2 separate regions of the Homo sapiens genome follow, and region 2 is linked to region 1. Evidence: promoter capture Hi-C in 16 types of primary human blood cells and fetal thymus (Javierre and others, 2016). All regions are on one chromosome and are shown on one strand. Each heading gives the region's core, a stretch centred on a gene start or on the middle of the fragment in contact. The rest is flanking DNA. Distances are from core to core; before and after follow the strand shown. Region 1 holds the start of PRKCH (protein kinase C eta). Region 2 overlaps PRKCH (protein kinase C eta).

The links. Contacts are between HindIII fragments. The CHiCAGO score rates a contact against its expected background, and 5 or more counts as called.
Region 2: a fragment that was not itself captured here is called in contact with the fragment with the promoter of PRKCH in region 1 in 1 of 17 cell types (non-activated CD4 T cells); the score reaches 7.6 in non-activated CD4 T cells.

What each region holds. Positions count from the first base shown.
Region 1 is chr14:61,319,056-61,325,349 of GRCh38, reverse strand. PRKCH (protein kinase C eta) reads right to left here and starts at 3,771. Exons shown (of 14, transcript NM_006255.5): 1 at 2,886-3,771. The coding sequence starts at 3,248. It overlaps PRKCH-AS1 (PRKCH antisense RNA 1), which reads left to right and starts at 2,532. Exons shown (of 5, transcript NR_186042.1): 1 at 2,532-2,815. RefSeq lists enhancers at 2,339-2,882, 2,883-3,427 and silencers at 3,389-3,558, 3,709-3,978. The HindIII fragment of the contact is 5,451 bases long and covers 1-4,668 here.
Region 2 is chr14:61,493,992-61,500,285 of GRCh38, reverse strand. The region is part of intron 10 of PRKCH (protein kinase C eta); the gene reads right to left. Among named protein-coding and RNA genes, the nearest start is that of PRKCH-AS2, 48 kb to the left of the region's middle. The HindIII fragment of the contact is 536 bases long and covers 3,805-4,340 here.

The DNA of each region.
Region 1 (6,294 bases), core at 2,522-5,021:
GCAGCTTTATCAGAAATCAGTGGGTCATATATGTGTGGATCTATTCCTAGACTCTCTTCTATTCATTCCACTGATCTGTATGACTCTCTTTATTCCAATATCACATTATCTTGATTACGGTCATGTTACAGTTAGCCTTGAAATCAGATACTCTAAGTCCCCCAACTTGTTCTTTTTCAAAACTATTCTTAGACTGGTCTCAGTACTTTACATTTCCATATAAATTTTAAAGTCAGTCTGTCAATTTCTACAACAAACTTAGATTTTGACTGAGATTATACTGAACCTATTGAATACTTTGGGAAGAATTGAGATCTTAACCATATTGAATCCTCTCATCCATAACCTACAGCTAAGAGCTTCTCTGGATCTAGCAAAAACTAAGTCACTAGGTTTTGGGGGTTTTTTGAACCTGCAACTTCAATAGTTTTTTTTTAAGTCAGTAATCTGTAGTTCCACTTGCAACCATAAATTTATTATGGAGTAAATTCAATTATTCCACATTTAACTCTCTGAATAAACTACATGTCAATTTAAAATACTAAAGATAAATAAGTATTTCTTTAATCCTGAACTTCAAAAGCACCTTTGGGCCAGATGCAGTGGCTCACACCTGTAATCCCAGCACTTTGGGAGGTTGAAGTGGGAGGATGGCTTGAGGCCACAAGTTCAAGACCAGCCTGGTCAACAAGGTAGCAAGACCCCATCTCTATTTTTTTAAAGCATTTTTGAACCTATAAAGGATACTTTTTTAAAAAAGCATGCATTCCATATATTTCCAAATTTTTTTAACAAGATTTTCTTTAAAAAGAAAAGAAACAACACTCTGCCCAACCTATGTTCCATATCCTTACAGTTCTGAAATACCCAAAACCTTTTTAAAAAAAACAACAAAAAAAAAATCTGCCTTCTGATGCATGCAAACGCATGAAAAACTGCTGGTTTCAAGGTCATTTAAATGCTGACCCTCCCTACCAACCACTCAACGTTTTCCAAAACACCACCAGTGGGTTATATTAAACATCTAAGTGTAATTATTTCAGACCATTATAAATATCGATATCTGATTTACACTGAATATTCATCCAGTGGAACAATAAGCAGCTCTGTACATGCCACCTAGTCAGATAACGTGGATCTTCCTACACTTATGACACCAAGAAGTCCTCATCTTTTGGTCTTCATGTAGGCTGCAGGTTCTCCACCTCGACTGCATACTGGAATCACCTGGTGAGCCTAAAAGTACGGATGATGGGGTCCCACAGCCAGAGATTCCTATCTAGAATCTTTAAAAGTGGGGATTTTTTAAAGGTCCCTGGGTGATTCAAGTGGGAAGATTATGGTTGAGAAGGACGAGTCTAGGCTATCTCCAGGAAGAGATGCTTCTCATGGCCACTGGCCAATCTGCACCACCATAATTCAGAACCTAGTTCCTCTAGAGCTTTGCCCGACCTAACTCCTAATCAGACACTAATAGAACTCAACAATTCCATCTGGATGCCTACACTCACTTCTATTTCATTTCCAGAAATTCACAGGATAAATGTAAATATCTAACTGTATTTTAGCAATTCCTCTCTAGTCCCCACTTCTAAGTACCACAAAGTAAATTAGGCTGAAGGGAAATTAACTCAATATAATTTGACGATTAAGGTTAGTCATTATGGTTTTTGTACTTCTATTTAAAAGAAAGGAATAGCTCCACAAGCCATCTTTAATTTTAGAAAATATACGGTAAAATTACTAATTCCACAAAGTATAAAATAAATACCTAAATGAGCCTTCATCACCATCCATCTGATTTCACCACTTGTAAATTTCAAACATTTTCAATACTGATATTGGGTTCAAAACTGACTCCCTCCAGAACTTAAACTATTAAACTCCTGAGAGTCTTCAAATGGCGTACTCCACTTTGCCAAACCAGACTACTTTATTATAATTATCATTCCATCATCTCAAAGTGGGAACGATGACACCTGCATCACAAAGACAGTGTGAGGATTAGGCAGTAAAAGCATGTTAGCACCGTGTAGAGCGCTCTAGAAGTTTTAATTGATTTACAGCAGAAATTATGCCTCCTGGGAACTATGTGAAAAGCAGAGGCAAGGGGAGAGCTGCGGGTAGCTACACGTCAATACCCAGGAACACAGGCTGGTGATGGGGGGAGGGAAGACAGTTAACAACCTCCTGAGGAGTCCTTACAGCCTCTTCTCAGACCCATAGCAGCAGAAACCCACACTGCAGGACTCCCACCTCGGACTGACTAAGTTACTTGCAAGTATATGTAAATCTCATCTCCTTGGAAAAATGCTAAATAATAAAACTGCCAACGTGCAGACCCAGGCGCTCATTTCCCTGCCAGTGTAGCTCATGTACCTCTGGGATGTGCAAGCCGAAACACGTGTGCACGTCTGAGCGGCTGAACCAACATGTATCCATAAACATTATGAATAATACTCGCGAGAATGTACGGCTTTCTCCTAAGTAGCGCTTGAAGCACTTTACCCAAATCAAGTCCCTTTTGTATCACTCCTTCCCTGCCTTTCCTACCTATCACTCTCGTGCTGAAAGTTGGAGCTCCTTACCCAAAGACTGGGCGGAAAGGGTGACCGCCCTGGACCCCTGCCCGACTTCCCGTTAGGCCAAGCCGCTGTCCTGAAAGGGGATCGTGTCCAGGCCGGCTTCCTGGAGACACACCTGCGCCTGCACACACCCACCGCGGTCGCGTCACCAGTGCCGCGGCCACGTGGACGAAGACCAAAGTCTGGAGGGAATTCCCTCAGCCACAAAGCGATGGGAAAGCGGGACCCGGGTGAGTTTTGAAAAACATAAGGGGAACGGGGGTTGGGTGGACACAAAGGGAAGGGGTCACCGCTACTCACCCAACCCTCGAAGGTGTCCGAGGCGCCGGTCGTGCGCAGCAGCTCCTGGAACTGCAGGGTGCAGTTGGCCACGAAGTGGTCGTAGCCCAGGGGCGTCTCGTGGAAGACGGCCAACTCGAGGTGGCCGCCGTCGGTGACGTTAGCGCAAAACTCCTCGTTGTACGTGGGTTTGTTGGTCTTCTGCTTGGTGCTGGTCTGGCCCACGCGCACCTGGTCCACGCTCACCGTCAGATAGGGGTCCAGCAGCTGGTGGCCCTTCTTGAAGAGCGAGTGGCGCAGGGACCAGCGGGTGGGCTGCAGCCCCACTGCCTCACCGATGCGGACCCTCAAATAGCCATTGAACTTCATGGTGCCAGACGACATGCCGGCGCCGCTGCCCCGGCCCCGGGGGGCCGCGCTGCTTCGCAGCGGGAGAACCGGGAGTCCCGTCTCAGGCCAGCCCTCGGGACAGGTGCAGGAGTCGAGGCAGCCCTGGGGAAAGGCAGCGCCTAAGCGCCCCTCGACTGGCCATTCTGCCTCCTCCGTGGGACTTTTCCCTCCCCTCCTTCCCTCCCTCCCGAGGTGGAAAGGAGGGGAGCCCGCCGCCGAGCCCTCAGCGGGCCGGGGAAGCCCGACCGTCCCTTCCAAGCGCGCGGCGCCTCCCGGGGACTCGCGCAGGACTCGCCCCTTCTCCAGGGCCGGGCAGCTCCTCTCCCTGGAGAGCCGGACCTACCCGTCCGGTGAGCCCCAGCCCCAAGCGTCTCTTCCCCCGCCTCCTCTTGCTTCTCCTCCTGCCCCCGCCTCCGAAGGCTCACGCTCTCCCCCACTCGGCGAGCTTCAAACCAGGAAGCAGCTGCCGCCGCCGCATCCCCGGCGAGAACCTCGCACCGCCAGGTTCCAAGTTCACAGAACCCCCGCGTCCGCTCCCGCGCCTTCCGGACCCCAGGGGCGTGGCCCGCGGTCCGCGGCCCGGCCCTGCGGTGGGTGGATCCCCGCGCAAGCCCCCGGGAGGCCAGTGCCCGCTTGCGCCGCCCTGCGCGCCCTCCTTGTAGCGCTGGGTCTGGCCGTGCGCTGCGGGTTAGGGGCCACCCCGGGCGCAGGCCAAAAAGGAAAGGGTTCGTGGCCCAGCCCGAGCAAACACCTGAGGCGTGGTAGACTGACCTGGGGAGCGATGGAAGGTTGGGAGGACGCAGAGGAGGGCGCTCCAGCCAGGAACCCGCGCGGCGAGGAGTCGCCCGCCCCCTCTCTCCCAACCTCCCCGGTGGGCTGGTGACCCTGCAGGGCCATCCCCAAGAGGCCCTGGCCGGAGGCGGGGGCACGGCGGGGAGGTTCTTTTTCCTAATATTTACAGGGATGGCTCATCCCGGGGTCAGCTCGAACGCATCCTGTTTGTGCGCCTTTCCTGCAGAGGCTAATTACACAGTTGTGTGTATGTGTGTGTTTTAATAGGGCAGTAGTAATGATGGAAATCCTGTTCGCCTCCTTCCTCGGAAGGTGTGTCTTGTTGCACATAGAGCAGGAAAGGTCGGTTCTTCTGGAGACAGACATGGCCAAGAGGTAATAAGTCTCTTCCTCTGCGGGTGGTTTCTGGTCCACCCAGCTCTGCGCGGCAAGGGCAGAAAATGTTCACACACACAGGCTGTCCCCAACACACACGCGGAAGAAATTGCCTCTTCTAGGAACACTCCAGCTTGTTGTATTTGCAGTCAGAGTGGGCAGCCTTCTGATGCTTCCCACCCCGTGGTCCCTGCAGATTTTGTCTCCGGGGAGGACCTTTTAGCCTACGCTGCTATGCCGCAAAGCTTGCTCCCTGAGGGCCAGCCACAACCAATTTGTTCCCCAAAAAGCCTAGGCCACTTTTTGTTGTTGTTGTTGTTGTTGTTTTTGAGACGGAGTTTCGCTTTTGTTGCCCAGGCTGGAGTGCAATGGCGCCATCTCGGCTCACCGCAACCTCCGCCTCCCAGGTTCGAGCGATTCACCTGCCCCAGCCTCCCGAGTAGCTGGAATTACAGGCATGCGCCACCACGCCCGGCTAATTTTGTATTTTTAGTAGAGACAGGGTTTCTCCATGTTGGTCAGGCTGGTCTCAAACTCCCGACCTCAAGTGATTCGCCTGCCTCGGCCTCCCAAAGTGCTGAGATTACAGGCGTGAGCCACAGCACCCAGCCAAGCCTAGGCCACTCTTAAGATACTTGATTACATTCTGTCTTGCTATACTGGTTCCCTCGGAGCAGATTCGGCTTGCTTTCATTCCTTTCTTTCTTCCTTCCCTCCTTTCTTTCTTTTATGTTTTAGAGACTGGGTTTTGCTTTGTCATCCAGGCTGGAATACAGCGGTGTGATCATGGCTTACCATAACCTCCAGCTCCCAGGTTCAAGTGATCTTCCAGCCCCTGCCTCCTAAAGTGTTAAGATTACAGGCATGAGCCCCCGTGCCTGGCCCCAGGTTCATCTTTCTAGCCCCCACTCCTCTAAGGCCCTGTTCAGAACTTTCTAATTGAGTAGGTTCTCAACGATTTCACATGAGTGCAAGGAGGCCTGACCCGTAATAACAGCACTATACAGAATGAAAACAAGTAAGGACAATGGGCCAGGGGGGAAAGGGCCTGTCTTGAAAACACCAAAGCTTCCTTAGAGAACAAGGCAGGGATGCAACGCATCACTCTAATGACATCTTAGCTTTAGGCAGGGCTTGTAAAGCCTGCTCCCAAACGTCCAGGGGGCTCCTGTTTGGCCTTAGTGCTCCAGGGGAAGATGTCGCATCTACCCTGTGGGTCAGCTCTGTCACCCTTTCCTCCAAACAGCTGAACTCTAGCTTTAAGAGCCACTAAAGGATTTGCTCCTGTTGGACTTTGGGGCTAAAAGAAAACAGTCCCCATACAGAATCATGGGGTGTAGACTTTAAATTTTTTTTTAAATTTTAAAAAGAAAACAGTCCCCAAATGGTAGGTGGCCACACAGCTGTCCTGGGACTGGGATATGACGATACCAGACACTCCATCTTCACCCTATCAGTACCTATCAGGATTGGCAATGGTGACAGAGCAGTGGGTCAGACAGCCATGGTGCCTGCCCTCCTGGGGCTTACAGTCCCACAAGGAGGAAAAACAACTAATAGAAGAGGGTGCAGTGAAGGAAAAGCCCACGGTGCCAAGGGGTGATGTATTATAACTGGATGGGTGGTCAGGGAAGGGTTCCTTGAAAAAGCAAATAGCAGAGAGATCAGCTCATTGAGAGCTCCTGAGGAGACAGATGGGTTGGCCTGTTTGGGAACCAAAAGCACCCTACGTGGCTGGAGCTGAGGAAGGCGTGGCTGGAGCTGAGGAAGGTGAGGGGAGAGTGGCTGAAATGAGCTTGCAAAGGTGGTCACACTGACCAGACTGGTAGATCACAGGAAAGCCTTGGACATTATCTATGGGCCACTGGACGCC
Region 2 (6,294 bases), core at 2,823-5,322, 170 kb before region 1:
CTCTAGGCTGCAGTGAGCTGCACCGCTGCACTCCAGCCTGGGCAACAGAGGGAGACCGTGTCTCAAAAAAAAAGACCAAGTCTTACCCAAAAGAAGTAACATGAGCTATAATAACATAACTCAGTTCAGTTAGCCAACTGCTAGTTCAGATAGTTCTGATTTCGTAAGAGAAGAACGTGACAAGTCAACCGGATATTGATCCAAGTATCTAGAATGCCTAATAACATGGATGGTTTATGGATTACTGAGAAATCAGTAATCCTGAAGAAACAGCCAGAACGAGCGACTATCAGGCTAATAGTATTTCCTTTGTTAACAGGTAAACTAGATTGGGAGACCCAGACTGCCTTCACATATCTCCACAGCTTTCTTGTAAGAGAGCTGTATTTTTTTTTTTAAGTCTACCCCTTATAGGTGGTCCAGAACCAGTGAACTGAAGCTACTGGGAAACAATGTTTGAGTCAACAGAAAGGCGAAATTTCCAAAAGCCGTACATCCCTGAAAGTGGAGGAAGTATAAGTTCCTCTTTGCTTATAGGTGTTTAAGTACGGAAAAAAATGACTGCTCGGCAGATGTTGGATATTCATGCTTTGAAAGAAGAAGGGTATATAACTTTGAACTCCATTCCAGCTTTGAGATTCTAGAATTTTGTCAGCGGAACACAGTAAATTTTGACGCAAATGCCAAGAACAGGGTAGAGCAGCAATTCTGTACGTGAAAGCACAGGCTTACATGGCTACTCTGGAGGCCAGAGGAGCAGTGAAAAGGGAGGAGCAAGATGTGAGGGGCCAGGCAGTCAAAGCGCCACCTTCCCATTGCTGCACCAGCCACACACCTAGCAAACCAGACACCCCCAGGACACTGTTCTCCAGGGTGTGGGGTAGTTTGCCTGTTAGGTTTCACTAACTTCTCTTTGCAACTGAACTGAGAAATTCATCATGTGTGAGCATTTTCACCAAAAAGCAACAGAGCACTTGTACCACTTCACATTTCTACTTACAAAGTTTACAGAAAAGTACAATTTGACATTTGCAAGACAAAGGAAAAAATTCCCCTTTCAGGGACATGCTGCAAACTATTTATCAAAAGGTACACTCTAAAACCACAGTGTACTCAGCTTTTTTTCCTGCCAGGCTTAAGTACTGGGATCTAGGAGAAGGATTTGGTCTCAACACACCTCAAAATAGAGCTCCAAGCCTAACATGCATGGCTTAATGAGCCAAACGCATGACAACGCCTCGGTCTAATCCTTGGTTATTCTCTCGTGCCTGTCTACTGTGTGTTCCACTGTAGCAGGAGCTGTTTTCCTTAGGGCTGAAATCATTTCCGGGTAGATTTGGCACTATCAAACCAAGTAGCTGCAAAACATGTTGCTTAATGTAACTGAAAACCCCAAACACGTGTATGAATGAATGGCTGTAATGGACTGAATGTTTTGTGTCCTGCCAGAATTCATATATTGAAGCCCTAAGCTCTAATGTGATAGCATTTGGAGGTAGGGCCTTTGGGAGATAATTGGGGCTAGGTGAGGCCACAAAGGTGAGGTCTCATGATGGAATTTGTGACCTTATAACAAGAGACACCAGAAAGCCTGTGCTCTCTCCATCCCCTCACCGCATGAGAACACAGCAAGATGGCAGCCACCTTAAAGCCAGGAAGAGAGCCCTCATGAGGAACCAAATTGGCCAGCACCCAGATCTTGGAATTCCCAGTCTCCAGAGCTGTGAGAAATACATTTCTGTTCAAGGAATCCAGTCTGTGGTATTTATTATGGCAGCAGACTAAGCAGTACTGAGCAGACTAAGACAATGGCTTTGTGACTTCTGTAGAACTGGGTTTCACAGACAAGGAGTGGTCACGGCGTGAGGCTGGGGCTTGACAGAACTTAACTGATAAAACAGCAGGTTACCAATTTCTGACATCATGTTGAAAAACATAGTATCACATGAGATCACTTCTAAAATAGCATTTCTGCCCAGGTGCGGTGGCTCATGCCTGTAATCCCAGCACTTTGTGAAGCCCAGGTAGGGGATCACTTGAGGTCAGGAATTTGAGACTAGCCTGGCCAACATGGTGAAACCCCGTCTCTACTAAAAATACAAAAATTAGCCGAGTGTGGTGGCGCATGTCTGCAATCCCAGGCACTTGGGAGGCTGAGGCAGGAGAATCGCTTGAGCCCGGGAGGAGAGGCTGCAGTGAGCTGAGATCAAGCCACTGCACTCCAGCCTGGGTGACAGAGTGAGACTCCATCTCTAAATAAATAAATAAATAGGATGGCATTTTTTTAATGATAAAAAGACAACACTTGTTCAATACAGAACATTTGAAAACCATCAAAAAGAAAATAAAAATCACCTATATTACCTCAGACAACAACTGTTGATGTGCTGGTGTTTATCCTCCTGTAATTACTTTTCTCTACAGAGAGTAAAACTGACTGATGGGATGAAGTCTTTCTTTGGGTAGTCTCTTCTGATCATAACTGCCATTACACTCATGTAGTCAGTTTAAAGAGCCCATCCTCTTATACTGAAAAGGACACTCCTGAGAAGCAATTCTACTTTGAAGACACTCAATAGTTTCAATGTGGATATCCACAGCCTATAATATCAACACAGAATCACTGGGTGCCTATGGGGGTGTTTGGGGACTAACTGAAAGGGGCACTAAAAACTTTCTAGGATGACAGAAATGTTCCATATAGTATTTGGAGTATTGATTACACAATGTGTACATATGTCAAAATTTATCCAATTGTGCACTTAAGATCTATGAGGGGAACTAGAAAAATGGCACCAATACCCGTCACTGGAACATGTGTTTGATGCTTTTCCCAAAAGTGGTAGCAAACAGAATGTTTAAAAGTGAACATCACTGAGCATGTACTACATACCAGGCTCTGGGCTAAAGGCTTTACATGCACCTCCACATCACAAATTTAATTCTAACAACCACCCTCAGGTGAGTATTTCCAGGACTTCCATTTTATCATTGAAGAAACTGAGGCTTAGAGAGGTAAAGTAACCTGATCAAGATCCCACAACAGAGAAGTGGCAGAACCAAGACTGGAAACACCCAGGTCCATTCTACTCAGGAGCCCCAGCTCTTATCCACAATGCCAGCTCTAAAAGTCGTTAATTTGTGTGCCTTTCCAGGAATCTGTTCTAAGGAAAGAATCGAAGTCAGATCCAAATAAATATGTATGAGGATATAAATGCATCACTACTACAGATGTGCAAACATCCTTTTCGGTCAATCAGAGAAACTTTCCAGAAGGCTTTCATTTATTTAAAAAAGACTGCTTTGAGTTATGAGAAAATCATGGGTTTGGGCCAGAATAAGACAATCAATGGGCAGCTCTTCCCAAGCTGAGTGTCATATCATAGCGCTGTCATGAGGAGTAGGTGAGTTAATGCAGAGAGCTCAGAATAGAGCCTGGCTCGTAGTAGATGCTCAATAAATGGTAGCAATCATAATATATTCTCAGCCCTGACCTGTCATCTTAAAATAAAAAAAGCGTAGAATTTGAGGCCTTGGTCAATTCCATGAACACCTAAGAACACCTAACTCTCCTGTCATTGTCCTAGGGGCTGGGCTTGGACAGCCACAGTCCCTGCCTTCATGAACCCATATGCACAGGGGCACAGCCTATGGAAAGCACTAAGGGAAGGGTTTCACGGGATGCCATGGGAACAGAGGGGGCACCTAACCTAGATGGAATCTGGAGGGTAGGGGAGTCCAGGAAAGGCTTATCAGAGGAGGTGATGACTAAGATGAGACTGCAAGAATTGGTAGCTGGAAGCTTGGCAAAGAGATGGGGGAGCATTCTAAGCAGGGGGAAACGTGTGGAAAGGCCTGATGGGTGAGGGAACTCAGCACCTGCATGGATTCAAAAGGATATCATGGAGTGGAATTGTAGATTCCACCACATACTGTGTGACCTTGAACAAGTCCTTTCACTTCCCAGAGCCTCAAATATAGGATAATGTCACTGACCTTTGTCTGCAAAATAAGGATAATGCCACTTACCTTGTGCAACTGTCATACAGAAGATACAATTAAACAGAGGAGTTTATCCTTACAGGACAAATGCTCAACACATGTGGTTAGCATTCTGTATTGCAGAAAGAAAACAAAAAGGCTTGGGCCCTCGACGCCCATGACGCCCGAATTCATCTGCTCCAGCCCACTGGTCCCTCTGCTGCTCCTTGATCCCACTGCGCACTCTCCCTCCAAGGACTTGGCCTAGAACACTCTTCTCCCAGATATTCACATGGAGCTGCCTCCTCCCATCCTTAGGTCTTTGTTCATCTGCTCAAATGTCCCTTATCAGAGAAGCTTTTAAAAATCTCTGTGTCAAACAGTAAATCTTTGTTACTGAATTTTATATTGCTCCTACCAAGTTTTTTATCCATATACTGAATCACCCTAACATTCAATATATTTTTGTCTTTTGTCCTACTTTTGTGTTCTTTCTATATTTTGTCCTACTACTTGTGCTAGAAGTTAAGCTCCCTGAGAGGAGGGGGTTTTGTCTGTTTTATTTCCTGTATTTTTCCAGAGCTCACAGTAGCGTCTGGTACACAGTGAGTGCCCAACAACAAAAAAATTATTTGTTAACGGAAAGAACAAACACCCCAAGCTCGAGGGCAGGACCTGTCTTTATTCTTCTTTTACTCCCTAAGAGCCTGACAAAGGTTTGCATTGGGTAGACTTTTCATAAACATTTGTTGAACTGTACAATTCAATTACTTTTTACAAATGGTTGTGTTCATTTAATACATAAAGATTAAATGACTGTATTTTTCTTGTTCAGCAAATAAATCCAAGATTCTCTGTAATTATAATGAAGCAATTGGTTGCTTGGTCAATTTGGTGGGAAGAAGAGCAAAACTGGTGGCCTGGTTTCATTAGCTGGTGAAAGCCACTAACACATTTATCAATTAGTTCCAAATAGTCACAGCCTTCACTGATGAAAAGGCCAAACCCTGAGGAGGTATGCCAGGATCAGCATTCTGGTTTAATATATGAAGTACAGAAAAATGATCAAGGTGTCCCAGGACTTAAATGTCTATCTGTTATAAAGTTAGGTCCTTTGAGAAACTGCATTACTGGGATTACACCCTCAGGATGTTCACTCCACTAATGGTCTGAAAAGGTTCTTGAATCTCCTCTCAAATTAACCATCAAACATCTGCTTTAATACCAGAAGGCGTAAACTCAAAATGAGGTCAACTGCTTCCCCTAAACATTAGAAACTGTTGAAATTGAAGCAAAATGCCAGAGTATAGTCTTCAGGTTGTACAACCTGTCACATATGCCCTAGGACTTCCTAAGAAAATTATCTCAAGGGTTTATGGTAAGTTCATGGTAAGTATATCAATCACTTGCAATTCCAAAATATTGTGAAAATACAGAGAAAATGATTTGGTTTCAAAGAAAAGCATGACCAGAGTTTACTATAGAGACTGGTCTTCAGAAGGTTGATTTTTACAAGCTAAAACTCCAATTTCTATGAAGAATTACCTGTTATTCAGGCAGTGTCTTGAGAATAATTGCTGCCTATGCCTATGGATACCAAGAAAACCCAAATCAGGTGACAGCACATATGCAAAGATAACCTCTTATATTGACACGGCATGTTCCAAAAAGCATTCGCATTTCCACTTCCATCTGATTTGAGTTTTACAAGGACCCTGCTGGGAAGCTGTGTCAATGGCACCTCCACTGTACAGATGGGCCAAAGGGCTAGGGGCATTCAGCAACCTGCCCACATCCCCAGGACCAGGGCTGGGTCTAGCATGCAGGGCTTCTGAAAACCATGTCCAGCATTCTTTCAGTAGGAAGAATATATGTAGCGTCACACACATACTCTAAAGTAAGTGATCTTTTTCTATACTTTTATGGAATTATATTTTTAATACACTGGCACTTTGGGGATACTTACTCTAAATGATGAACATACCAATTGTTTCTATAACCCTGGAGCCAAATTTAGGCAGATTTCTAATGGAGTCTGGTTCCCCAGGGTTCTGTCCTTGACTCACACTGTTCCATTTAAGAGACTCCTATTGGGTGATCTCATTCAGTCTCGTGGTCTCAACTAATAGCTATGTCCTGATGACTTCCAAATATTTAATTCAGCCCATCCTCTTTACTGAGCTTCAGACTCCTATGCCCCTATCCATGGAGCATCTCCACTGGAGTATACCTCAGGCACCTGTCATACAACCTTTCTAAAACTTCTTCCTCTTTTGCCTAGACTTCTTCCTAGGCACATGATCTCTCCTAGCT